Regions from separate parts of the Homo sapiens genome. Here region 1 is linked to region 2. Evidence: promoter capture Hi-C in 16 types of primary human blood cells and fetal thymus (Javierre and others, 2016). All regions are on one chromosome and are shown on one strand. The core of a region is centred on a gene start or on the middle of the fragment in contact, and the rest is flanking DNA. Distances in the headings are between cores, read along the strand shown.

Evidence for each region. The method cuts DNA at HindIII sites, captures the fragments that hold promoters and counts their contacts. A CHiCAGO score of 5 or more calls a contact.
Region 1: a fragment that was not itself captured here is called in contact with the fragment with the promoter of ERCC4 in region 2 in 2 of 17 cell types (total CD8 T cells and naive CD8 T cells); the score reaches 5.9 in total CD8 T cells.

Annotation. Positions count from the first base shown.
Region 1 is chr16:12,088,090-12,094,205 of GRCh38, reverse strand. The region is part of intron 11 of SNX29 (sorting nexin 29); the gene reads right to left. LOC642696 (a long non-coding RNA gene) reads left to right here and starts at 4,266. Exons shown (of 2, transcript XR_109256.5): 1 at 4,266-4,437; 2 at 6,021-6,116. RefSeq lists a silencer at 4,298-4,347 and an enhancer at 6,024-6,093. The HindIII fragment of the contact is 974 bases long and covers 2,917-3,890 here.
Region 2 is chr16:13,918,118-13,924,287 of GRCh38, reverse strand. It overlaps ERCC4 (ERCC excision repair 4, endonuclease catalytic subunit), which reads right to left and starts at 4,134. Exons shown (of 11, transcript NM_005236.3): 1 at 3,916-4,134; 2 at 2,077-2,257. The coding sequence starts at 4,122. The region is part of intron 1 of LOC105371093 (a long non-coding RNA gene); the gene reads left to right. LOC124903647 (a long non-coding RNA gene) reads left to right here and starts at 4,210. Exons shown (of 2, transcript XR_007065001.1): 1 at 4,210-4,609; 2 at 4,705-4,823. It also overlaps the pseudogene RPS26P52. RefSeq lists enhancers at 3,681-3,890, 3,931-4,290, 4,501-4,550. The HindIII fragment of the contact is 6,939 bases long and covers 460-6,170 here.

The DNA of each region.
Region 1 (6,116 bases), core at 2,154-4,653, 1.8 Mb after region 2:
ATCTTCTGAGTATCTTCCATCTGTTAGTTCATTTAATCCTCACAACTGTGTCAGAGGGGTACTATGATAGCCCCATTTTATAGACGAGAACGCTGAGGCACAGTTAGCTTAAATAACTTGCCCAGGTTCCCACTGCTAATACATGTAGGGATGTGCGTAAGAACACAGCCAGTGTAGCTGGTTTAACATCAGCAAGCAGAACAGTAAAAACAAAAATAATGATACCACGATTGCCAGTGTTGCCCCAGACACTATGTGCAATTACCACCTGCTAACTACCTGAAGTGTTTCGTGTTTCTTACTTTTTTCTAAAGCCTGGAACACTCTGAAGGAGAGTCGTGAAAGCAAAGGAACTTCTCCCCAGGAAAATCCACGTATGTGCACAAACACACAAGCACGATTTTGCACACAATTGCAAGAGGTATCTGAAATCTCTAAAACTATCTATGAGCCTCCAATGAGGTTCCCAGATACAACAGACACTTCATATAACTCCCAGGAATCCACCAAGGGGATAATATTACCACCATTTCAAGGACTGGGAAAACGAGTTCAGAGAAATTAAAGCATTTGCCCGGGGTCACATAGATCTTTCTCTTTAAGACACGGTCTCACTCTGTCACCCAGGCTGTGGTGCGATCAAGGCTCACAGTAGCCTACAACTCCTGGGTTCAAGAGATCCTCCTGCCTCAACCTTCCGAGTAGCTGGGATTACAGGCACGTGCCACCATGTCTGGCTTTTCTGTCTTCTTCTTTTGTAAAGAGAGGGGGTCTCACTATGTTGCCCAGGCTGGTTTTGAACTCCTGGCCTCAAGCAATCCTCCTGCCTTGTCCTCCCAAAGTGTTGGGATTACAGCCAGGAACCACTGCACGTAGCCACACAGCTCTTGAACAGCAGTGCTGTGGTCTGCCTGACCCATGTTCTTTCCATCCCAACACATTGCTTCTCAACTTGCCGTGATCACTGACATCAGGGCCCTACAAAACTAAAGGATGTGTAAAGTGCAGAAAGGATTTACATATCTAATATTCTAGTGGCTCTGATGATATACAGTGGCAATGTAAGGGCTGCTGGCCACTCAGAATTAAAACCTGAAGGTGACATTTGCCTTTCACAAAGACAGTTGTTGATTCACCTCTACAAACTCCATAAGACAGCATCTCAGCAAAACAGTCCACAGGGGTCTGGCACTCACACAAATACCATTCTGCCTCTTTCCAGCCCTCTTCCCACATCGGCCAACACCTGGCCTCGGGTATAAAAAGTTATGGGCCAAATGTCCAAGCCAGTGTGTTTACTGATACTGGCTTGCCTAGCCAAAAGCCATTCAAATTCACCTGAATGTCACCACATGTGTAAAGGAGACAGTAGGCAAGGGGGAAAGGAAGACACCTGTCTTTGGTATCAAAGAAACTAACGAGGTCAGGCAAGTCATGAGAAACTTCAGCAGAGTGGTTCTTTAATCACCGCAAATGAGAATGTGGATATTCTGGCTCCTTTCCCAGAACAGATGGTCAGCACCACAAAGAATCCTTGAGGGAAGCCTCCTCCACTTCATAGCTTGCGAAACTGAGGCACAGAGAGGTCAAGCGACCTACTACTCTCAGAGCCAGGATCAAAACCAAGTGTTCCCATTCACTGAGAGCAAATAGTTTGTAATGCATCATTCCACTACAACCAGCTGCATCTCCCTGACACAAGAGGAAAAAAGGTGAAAATCCACTCCCTTGAGCAACTCATATTACCAGGCCTTTACTGCATCCCGAGATAGAGACACAATGGTGATTATAACAGACTGGAGCCCGCCCTCTGGGAACTCGGTTTCAATTCATTCCTGCAGAATGCACTTTTAACTCTCCATGCTTGTTAGAACTAAAATAAACATTAGTTCCTTTGTTCCTTCCTTCCTTCCTTCCTTCTTTAAATGTCTCTTGAACAACTACTTGTCAGGCAGGATTTGGGGGAGGAGGAAAATGGCAATTAACTAGCAGACAAAGTGTGTCTACTCAGGGAGCTTGTATCCCAGTGGGGGCTACAGGAAAGAAACTAAAGAGGGGAGTGAGGTTACAGGGGGCTCTGAAACCTGAAGTCAGCAGCCAGGGAAGTGCTGCACTTGGGGGGATGGGATGAGATTGCCTGTGCTGCGCTCTTCTAGATGGACGGCCAGGGAAAGAGGGCCTCTTGCAGGAGCACCTCCGCCGAGTAGGGCTGCGAAAACAAAACACCATGGACCCGGTGCACTGTGAACGACAGGGACTGATTTTCTCACAGTTCTGGCAGCTGGAAGTCCAAGATCAAGGCACCGACAGATTCGGGATCTGGTGAGGGTCCTCTTCTTGGTTCACTGATGGCGCCTTCTTGCTGTGTCATCATTACATGGCAGAAAGGGTAAACAAGGTCTCTGGGGTCCCTTTTTTTTTTTTTTTTTTGAGAAGGATCTTGCTCTGTTGCCCAGGCTGGAGTGCAGTAGCATGATCTTGGCTCACCGCAGCCTCAAACTCCTGGGCTCACCTCAAAGTGGGCTCACTTCCAAGTAGCTGGGACAACAGGCACGCACCACCAAGTCTAATTTTTGTGTGTGTGTAGAGACAGGGTCTATCTGTGCTACTCAGGCTGGTCTCGAGTTCTGGGATCAAGCAATCCTCCTGCCTCAGCCTCCCAAAGTGCTGGGATTGCAGGCATAAGCCATGATACCCAACCTCTGGGGTCCCTTTTTTAAGGGCACTAATCCCACTCATGAGGGCTCCAGCCTCATGACCTAATCAACTCCCAAACGCCCACCTCCTAACACCATCACACTGGGGGTTAGGATTCCAACCTAGGAATTTTAGGGGCACACAAACATTCAGTCTATAGCAAAGGGGACATCCTGAGACCTGGGTGCTTTTCTCTGAAGGTGGGGCATTACACAAGCTTGTGGGTCTCCAGGAACGGCAAGGAGGGGGAGCGGGTGTGAACCCTGCCTCCACCACCCAATAGCAGTATGACCTTCAGCAAAGCCTCTCAGTTTCTTCAACTACAGAACAAGTCTAGCACTCCTATTTTACACGGATGCTATGAAGATTAAGCATTAGTGAAGGTAAAGCCTGGTTTATGGTAGGTAAAATGAATAAGAAAGTATTTGTATTATTACTATTTTCCAGGCGCTCTTTTTTCTTTTTCTTTCTTTTTTTTTTTTTTTTTTTTTTTTGAGATGAAGTCTCACTCTGTCGCCCACGCTGGAGTGCAGTGGTGTGATCTTGTCTCACTGCGACCTCCACTTCCTGGGTTCAAGTGATTCTCCTGCCTCAGCCTCTCGAGTAGCTGGGATTACAGGCATGCACCACCACACCTGGCTAATTTTTGTATTTTTAGTAGAGACAGGGTTTCACCATGTTGGCCAGGCTGGTCTTGAACTCCTGGCCTCAGGTGATTGATCTGCCTGCTTCAGCCTCCCAAAGTGCTGGGATTACAGGTGTGAGCCTCCATACCTGGCCTTCCAGGCACTCTTTGAAGGAAAATCTAGAATTGCCCCAGAAATAGGAATGAACTTACGGATGGATTTGATATGTGAAGACTGGCAGAGGCCATCTGGAGAGAAACCAGGATGGAAATGGGAAACCAGGCAGCATCCTAGAATTCAAACCCTAAACCCCGGGACTAGGGTTTGGAGCTGGCACTTGAACCCTTGGGGAGCTACCAAATGGGCTTAAAAATTGGTCCCAAGGGGGTCTCCAGATGTGACTTCAAGAGGAACTGGCCTCCCTGGAGCAACGCCACCACCTACCATCAATAACCGCGTGAGGCGGCACGGAACATTTACCCCCATTCCCTCCCACTGCCTCTGCATTCCTGCGCAAAGTCCTAACCCGGAAGAACTAGAGCCCCGCCGCTCCCCACCGTAAAAGCTTCCAGGTAGCTGAGAAGGCTCCAATCACAAAGGATGCCCGGTTCCACACTCAAGTCTAATGCCTTACTAAGCTAGTACGTTTGGACCTCAGAACACCCCTGAGACGCCGGTGAGAATGTCCTCATTTCACAAATGAGGACAGGGGACCAGAGAGTCTTTAAGGAAAAAAGAAAGAGAAATCTAGTTAGGAAGTGGTGGAGCTGAGGCTGGAAGCCAGGACTCTGATACCGGCCCGCGCACCGCCCCACCCCGCATCCTGGCTCCAGAACTCCCCGCTGGGACGCGTCTCTCCTGCTGCACCTAGCACAGCTCTATGACTCACGGGTGTTAGGGCACCGTGCTTAGGGCAGTGACAGGACTGTCAGCAGCCTGAGAGTATGGCCGCTAAGTCAACTCAGGACTCCCTACCCCGAGACACAGGGGAGCCCTCAGCACTGCCTGTACAAGGGAGGGCGGAGGGAAGGAGCAGTGAAGGACGGAAGGAACGCACTGCTGAGTGTGCTCTGCGTGGCAAGCAGGCTTCAGAGCCTGCTCTTCGCAAGAGGAAGTGAGTAAATCCTATCGCCCCTGCTTCAAGTCCTCCACTGGCTTCCCATTGTACGTGGGATAAAATCTACACGAGCCACCCTCTCCAGCATCCTCCAACTCACTCTCCCCCTCACTTCTGGCAGCGCAATGCCAGCGGTACCACCCGCCACCAAAACAGGCCAAACCCCCCATCCTGAGACCTCAGCCCCGCTGACATCTGAGAGAAGCCCTTTCCTGAAACATGCCTTAAAACAGGGCATAGGCTTTGCCTTTCTAATGCTTGCTGCTTGTCTTCCCCACAGTTCTGACAGCTTCTGAGGGCAGGACCTTTGCTTCTTGTTCATCAGTATATAAACCAAGAGTAGCAGTGTGGCGATCATATTATACTATGGACACTGGGCAGAAATAGTTGCAGGTTTTTTTCTATTGGGTTTTTTTAATTTTTTTATTTTATTTTTTGAGACGGTCTTGCTCTGTCACCCAGGCTGGAGTGCAGGGTCATAATCATTATTCACTAAAGCCTCGACCTCCTAGGCTCGAACAATCTTCCCACCTCAGCCTCCCAAGTAGCTGGAACTACAGGCAGATGCCAGGTGCCACCACCACACACTTTTTCTTTCTTTCTTTCTTTCTCTTTCTCTTTTCTCTCTCTCTCTCTCTTTTCTCTCTCTCTCTCTCTCCTCTCTTTCTTTCTTTCTTTTTGAGACAAAGTCTCACTCTGCCTCCTAGGCTGTAATGCAGTGGTATGATCTTGGCTCACTGTAGCCTCTGCCTCCCAGGTTTAAGCAATTCTCTGCCTCAGCCCCCTAGTACCTGGGACCACAGGTGCCCACCACTATGCCCAGCTAATTTTTGTACTGTCAGTAGAGATGGGGTTTCGCTGTGTTGGCCAGGCTGGTCTCGAACTCCTGACCTCAAGAGTAATCCGCCCGCCTCAGCCTCCCAAAGTGCTGGGATTATAGGCATGGGCCACTGCACCTGGCCAATTTTTAAATGTTTTTATTTGTAGAGGAAGGGTCTTGCTATGTTGCCCAGGCTGGTCTTGAACTCCTGCATTCGAGCCATCTTCCCACCTCAGCCTCCCAAAGTGCTGGGATTACAGGCGTGCGCCACTGCCCCGGCCATAAATTGTGTTTGAATGGAAAAAGGGATCCAGCAAACAGTAAAAGAACAGAAGAAAATACAAAGAAAGAAATCTCTCTTTTTTCTTCAAAAAGAAAAGCACTCCTGTCAACACTCGAAACGCCATTCCTCTGCCATTTTCACATAGCATGACCACAATGTCCTTACGCTCCCTGAGCCAAGCCTTCCCATATAAATGAGGGCTGGGGAGGGATAGCTAAAAATCCTTTCTAAGTATAAGAACAAGTGGGAACAGAGTCTATGTCTGTCAAACAGCACAAGTCAGCACCCATGTCCTAAAAGCACCCTGCAGAGCTTACAAGGGACACCTGGCAACGTGGCACCTCCCCCTAGCAACATGAAAACACCCACCCAACACCCGCCCCTGCTCTGACCCCGCAGAGCCGGTCCCGCTGCAGCCTTCTGCAGGTGCTGGATCAGCTGACCAGATCTGTTCCTGCCTCTCCTGTCTCTCTCTAGCTTTCTGCCTGGCCCAAACAGTGACACTGTGAGGCCTGCTGCAGAGACTGAGCTGGTGCCCTGCAGCCTCAGACACCCACGGCAGGACCTGTGTGG
Region 2 (6,170 bases), core at 2,885-5,384:
AGTTCTGGTTAGCAGGGATTCCCAGGGTGGGGTGTGGTGGTAATAATGGGTGGTGACAGGTGAAGAAGTTGGGGCTGGGGGATTCAGCCTTTCCAGAGGGTTACCTGCACTTCACGCACTGCTCTTTGGTCAGTCCTGGGGGATGATCCCAGGGGATGAAAGAATTCAAAAGAATTCATTTTTGGCATTCATTTACATTCCACTCAGCCAAGCATCAGTAACAGCTCCAGCTTCATTATTCGGTGGGCTTTGATCAGAAAGGAGGAGGGAATTTGGCATTTTTCATTAGGAGCTACAGATAAGCCAGACTTCAACGTTGCATAAATTCACATTGCTCTCTGCCTAATTAGGTTGCACTGTAACTGAAAGTCACAGGATATTACTGACACCTAGTGGTAGTTTTAAACACAACAAAAAAATTTTTTTAAATCAATTTAAAAAATAAAGTAAAACCAAGCTTATAAGAAAGCAGCAAACAGTAAAAGACTGGTGTATCAAGATTTCTGGTTACAAAAGGCCAATTTTATTTGGTATGAATTACTAAGAGTTTGTTGTGTACCAGGCACTATACTAAGAAATTATTTTATTAACTTAATCCTTATAATAACTTCAGGAAGCACTGTTTTCTTAATGAGAAAACTGGGGTTAATGAAAATTAAGGAGTTTGCTTTGTAAGCAGGGTGTTAGCATTCAAAACCAGGTGAGCCTATGATACTGTTTATAACAATTATAAAAGTTATAAAAGAGTAACCAAACTTCTTCAGTCGGTTTACCATTGAAGCATTCATTGACACATTTATTTATCAAATTTTTCTTGAGGGTCATCTAGGTTCAGGGCAACATGACAGATACAGTGGGAATAAGATTATGAATTTCAGAGTCTCTCTGCCTCCAGAAGTTCACTAACGATCACAGTACTATATCCATCCATCATTCACCCAACAAATACGTCTTTAGTGCCTACCATGTACCAGTTATTTAGCCTGGGATGAACAACTTGTTCCTTGTGCTTCAGCTTATCTTGTGAGTGAGATAGACAAACACATAAATATAATGTAGTGTTGTGAGCACTATGACTGGGGAGAAATACAGGGTAATATGAGGGCACAGAGGCACAGCCCCTACATTAGCTTTGGGGACATCAGAAAAGGTTTTGAAAGGATAATGAAAATGAATTTCTTTTCTATTTAATTCTAGCTAAAATAATTTTTCCTCAAAATAAGCAAGCAACTACTTGATTTAATTTCAAATAATGCCAAAAAAATCTTAAGGAGGAAAACTAAATATTTTAGGAAATATACAAAGATTATTTATAAACATTTCAAATCTGATTAAGTTCTAAAAGCAAATGCTAACGAATTGCAAGTATTTACTGAATAAGAGCTTAGAAAACAATGAAAAGTTAATCTAACATTTAGTTACTTATTCAGGTCACAGATATTTACTGAGCATCTACAATGTGTCAGGTATCATGCTGAAAGTTGGAAGCATAATGTTGAACAAAAGGATCCAGTAGTGCCCACTAGAAGGTTCTAGTAGAGCGTTCAGCAGAGGAGACAGACAAAAATAAAAATGTAGAAAATACCCTCTCCGGTCCGTGCCTCCAAGATGACAAAGAAAAGAAAGGACAACGGTCATGCCAAAAAGGGCTGCGGCCATGTGCAGCCTATTTGCTGCACGAACTGTGCCTGATGTGTGCCCAAGGATAAAGCCATTAAGAAATTCGTCATTCAAAACACAGTGGAGGCCACAGCAGTCAGGGACATTTCTGAAGCGAGCATCTTCGACGCCTATGTGCTTCCCAAGATGTATGTGAAGCTAAATTACTGTGTGAGTTGTGCAATTCACAACAAAGTAGTCAGGAATCGATCTTGTGAAGCCTGCAAGGACCGAACACCCCCACCCAGATTTAGACCTGTGGGTGCTGCCCCACGACCCCTACCAAAGGTGATGTAGGGAGCTGAGTCCTTCAAGACTGAAGACAGACTATTCTCTGGAGAAAAATAAAATGGAAATTGTACTTAAAAAAAAAAAAGTACAAATTTACATACTAATAATAAGATTTCAAATTCTTACCAGTAATTAAATCTGAAGGTATTCTATCAGTCAAGAAGTCAACCACAAGTATCCTACTTGTCGCAAATATAACACCACCTTGTGTGTAAACTTCATAGCGACTGTTGCTTGTGATTTCATTTGTTACACGGCGAGGGAGGTGTTCAACTCCTTCTATCTTCAGCTGATTGATAAAATACTCCTAAATCAAATCAAACTTGATTAGTAGGCTATTTAATACAGGGCAGTTTTTAATAGGTCACAGATATTTAAAATAATGTGCTGTCTTTCTCTGAGATAATGAACTTAATAATGAATATACACACTAAGTTACTTCTTTATAGTAACTTCAGCCAACCAGTCTACATTTAATGAGGTTTTCTTGTTTTGGGGTTTACACTAAGGAATAATTGCACTTCAGTCATTATCAGCACTCAACTACAATAACATATGCACACACATACAAAACCTCAAACTTTTAAAAGCCTGGATTAAAAGATTTCTGCTACCTAGAAAATACTTCCCACCAAAGCCAGGTTTGTAGCCAAGCACATTCTATGAGATGATAACAAGGGAATCCTTTCCCCAGACAATGTTTTAGACTATCAGTTCTGTGCTAATCTATCCTAGAGGGACTTCATGTCACTGGGTCCCTTGGCTTGGTTTATTTATATCCCCAGTTTAAAACCATCTTTACTAGGCCCTGTGTGTTGCCTTAGGCCCTATGCCAAGCACTGGGGATACCTAGATGAATCAAACAGGATCCCTGCCCTCAAAGAGACTGTGGTCACTCTTCTCAGCTGACATTTTTCTCCCGGCCACCTGATATATCTAGGGGATCATCAGACTTGTCCGACCAAGCTGTGTCCCCTCTCAACACCCCTCAGACCCATGTGTAGCCCCATTCCATCTTTCTCAGTGTTCTCCATTGTCCTTAACTGTAGTTAACCTTTGCCAACATCCTCAGCGTCAAGCTCCAATCCCTTTCTGACCCTATGGCCCTCTTAACACAGCCTTGGTGAATGTCCTATTTCCTGGTCCCTCCTTTTCCCTATTGGGGTTTTTCCAGCGCCTCAGCATCTCCTTTCATGTCTCCCCATCACCCTCAGAGATCTTCCATCCTCATCACTGTTCCCTTTCAGGGACCTTCCTTCTGCCCCCAGAAACTCCCTTAATGGCCAACTTCAGGACTCTCCCGTTATTCCTATCCAGATCCTCCTTCCGACATCTCCCCCTCCCCTGCAGCGACCTCCGATCCTCTCCTACCACTCAGAGCCCCTTCACCTTTCAGTGCCCTTGCACCCATGTCAGGGACCTGCATCCTTCTGGGGACCCCTCCCATCCCTCTTAGTGTTGTCAGGGAATTGCATCCTTCTCGGGACCCCTTCCATCATTCTCACTGTGCCTGCACAGTGTCAGGGACCCGCATCCCCTGGGGACCCCTCCCATTTCTCTTAGTGTTCTTGAACTCTGGTCAAAGACTTGCATCCTTCTTGGGACCCCTCCCTTCCCTCTCAGAGTCCCCGCACAGTGTCAGGGACTGGCATTCCTCTTAGTGTTCTTCAACTCCTGCCAGGGACCTGCAGCCTTCTCGGGGCCCCTCCAATTCTTATCAGTGTCCCCGCACGGTGTGAGCGACCGGTATCCTCCTAGCGACCCCTTACATACGTCTGTGTTCCCGCAGTGTGAGGGACCTGCATCCCCCTGGGGACCCCTGCCATCCTTCTCTGTGTCATCGCGTAGTGTCAGGGGCCTGAATCCCCCTCAGAGCCCCTCCATCCCTGTCAGAGGCCTCGCATCCGCTCAGGAGGCCCTCAACACTCTCGGAGTCCCCTCACTCCCGCGCCAGCGCGGCCGCACCTCCTCGGCCGGCTGCGTGTTGAGCACCAGCACCAGGCAGGCTGGGTGGCAGTGCAGCTGGAGAAAGTGGTAGAGGAGCCGGTCCGCGCCGAGCCCGCGGGCGCACACTACTAGCCCGTCAGTGTCGAGCAGTTCCAGCACCAGCTGTCGCTCGTACTCCAGCAGCGGCGCCATGGCAATCCGTCGAGCCGGCTGCCCTGACTCCATGGAAGCTCTTCCGGGTCGCAGCCGAACGCAGCCGAAGGAAGCCGACTCCTAGTGGAGAGTAGGCCGAACTCAACCGAAGAGAGCCGAGTCCGAGAGGACGGCAGCCAGCCGAACGTAGCCGAGGAGAGCTGAGACTGAGATGATCGTGGGCCGAACGCAGCCGAAGAGGAGCCGAGGCCACGACAGGCGCGCTCTCAGAAAGCCGAAGAGAGCCGAGCCTGAGAAGGCAAGCGTTGGCCGAACTCAGCCGAAGAAGAGCCGAGTGGAGCCGAAGATTCATGGAGTCACCTGTAGGGGCTGGCGCCCCCTGTCGGTGTAGCTTGCAGATATCAGGCTCCATTCACGTCTCTTTTGAGTTTCCACATCCCCTGGCACCCTAGCCTCAAGCTGCCAAAAAGCAAGGGAAGGGGAAGTAAGCCTAAGGAGCTTAATCCCCCGACATCGACAGTTGAAAAAGTTACTGGTCAATATTCCAAATGCGCCAAGAGTTAGTAGCACCTGTTTCCTAGGGTGGTTTTTGGCCCTTCCTTTTGCGATTACTCCCCATCCTTCTTTTAATTTTTTTTTTCTTTCCCGAGACAGGATGTTGATATGTTGCCCAGGCTGGAGTGCAGTGGCTGTGGAATAAGCAGAATCATTTACTGACTTCAGACCTCTGTTTGCCTCCCAAAGACTTCAATACAATAAACTATTTTTAAAAATCCCTCCTTCCACTAGAGGGACACCTCCCGCAGTGTTTGTTCTATACCTAGAAATGCCTGATAGTTGAACTAGTAGAGGAATTGTTTTGTATAGAAACCCCCCACCTTTGTTATTAGAAAATAGAAAATACAAGTAAACAAAAATGAAAATCACTTGTTTCCATTACTTGGAAATAACCACTGTTAACATCACGAAATCTATTTTATTTAGTCCTTTTTTTTCTATCTATATACACATTCTCTCATCACACGGAGTTCTTTTACCGACACGAGATAATTAATATCCCTGATTTAAATCCCCAGCTTTGTCATTAACATTTGGCAAACCTCTGAACATGATGTTTCATATTCTTTTACAAAGTCCTTTTATATGGCTGATGAGATTTCCATTATGTGGGTGTACTTACCTAATTGCTTATTAGAGGACATTTAGTCTGTTTCTGCTTTTTCCCTTCCAGTAATATAAATAATATTTCACTAAACATCTTTGTATGTAAATTCAGCCGTGGCCTTCAGATACACGTCTAGAAATGAATAATCACTGGGATAAAGAGAAAAAAATTTGTAAGGCTTTTCATTCCATTCACATTGCCACATTGCCCTCTAGAAAGCCTATACCAATTCACATTCACACTAGCCGTTTCCAAGAGGATCTGTTCCTCTACCTCTTTACTGCTTAATCTGGTATTTTGCTTACATTTTGTCAAGATGAAAATAGCATATAATTCCTGAATGCTGTTTAAGTGGAAAGGGTTGCCGGCAGACACTTTACATACAGCGTTTCCTCTGAGGCAGATATTAATCTCGTCAGTTCTGCCAGTGAGAAAAATGGAGGTGCAGGGAGGTTATATAACTTGGGCAAGGCCACGGGAGCTAGTTAGTGTATTTCTTAGATCTATTTCAGGACGTGATATGGGGGTACTCAACACATATTTAGGAAATGAAGATTGAAATGACAAAGCTGAAATTCAAACCTGACTCCCAAGCGGTGGTAGGCAGAATATCGGCTTCCCAAAGATGTTCATATCCTAATCCCTGGAGCCTGTAGGTTGTTTTATGTGGCAAAGGGGGGTTTGCAGATGTGAGTATGTTAAGGTTCTTGAGATGGGGGGATTATATGGATTATCCAGGTGGGCTCAATGTATCACAAATGTGCTTATAAGAGAAAGAGAGAGGTAGGAGGGTCAGATTCAGAGATGTGACAGGAGGCCGAGTTCAGAGTGATGTGGAACGGGCACTGAACCAAGGAATGCAGCCCTTACAAGCTGAAAAAGGCAAGGAAATGGATTCTCCCCTAGGGCTCCCGGGAGGACTGCAGCTCTATCCACCCATTTTGGACTTCCGACC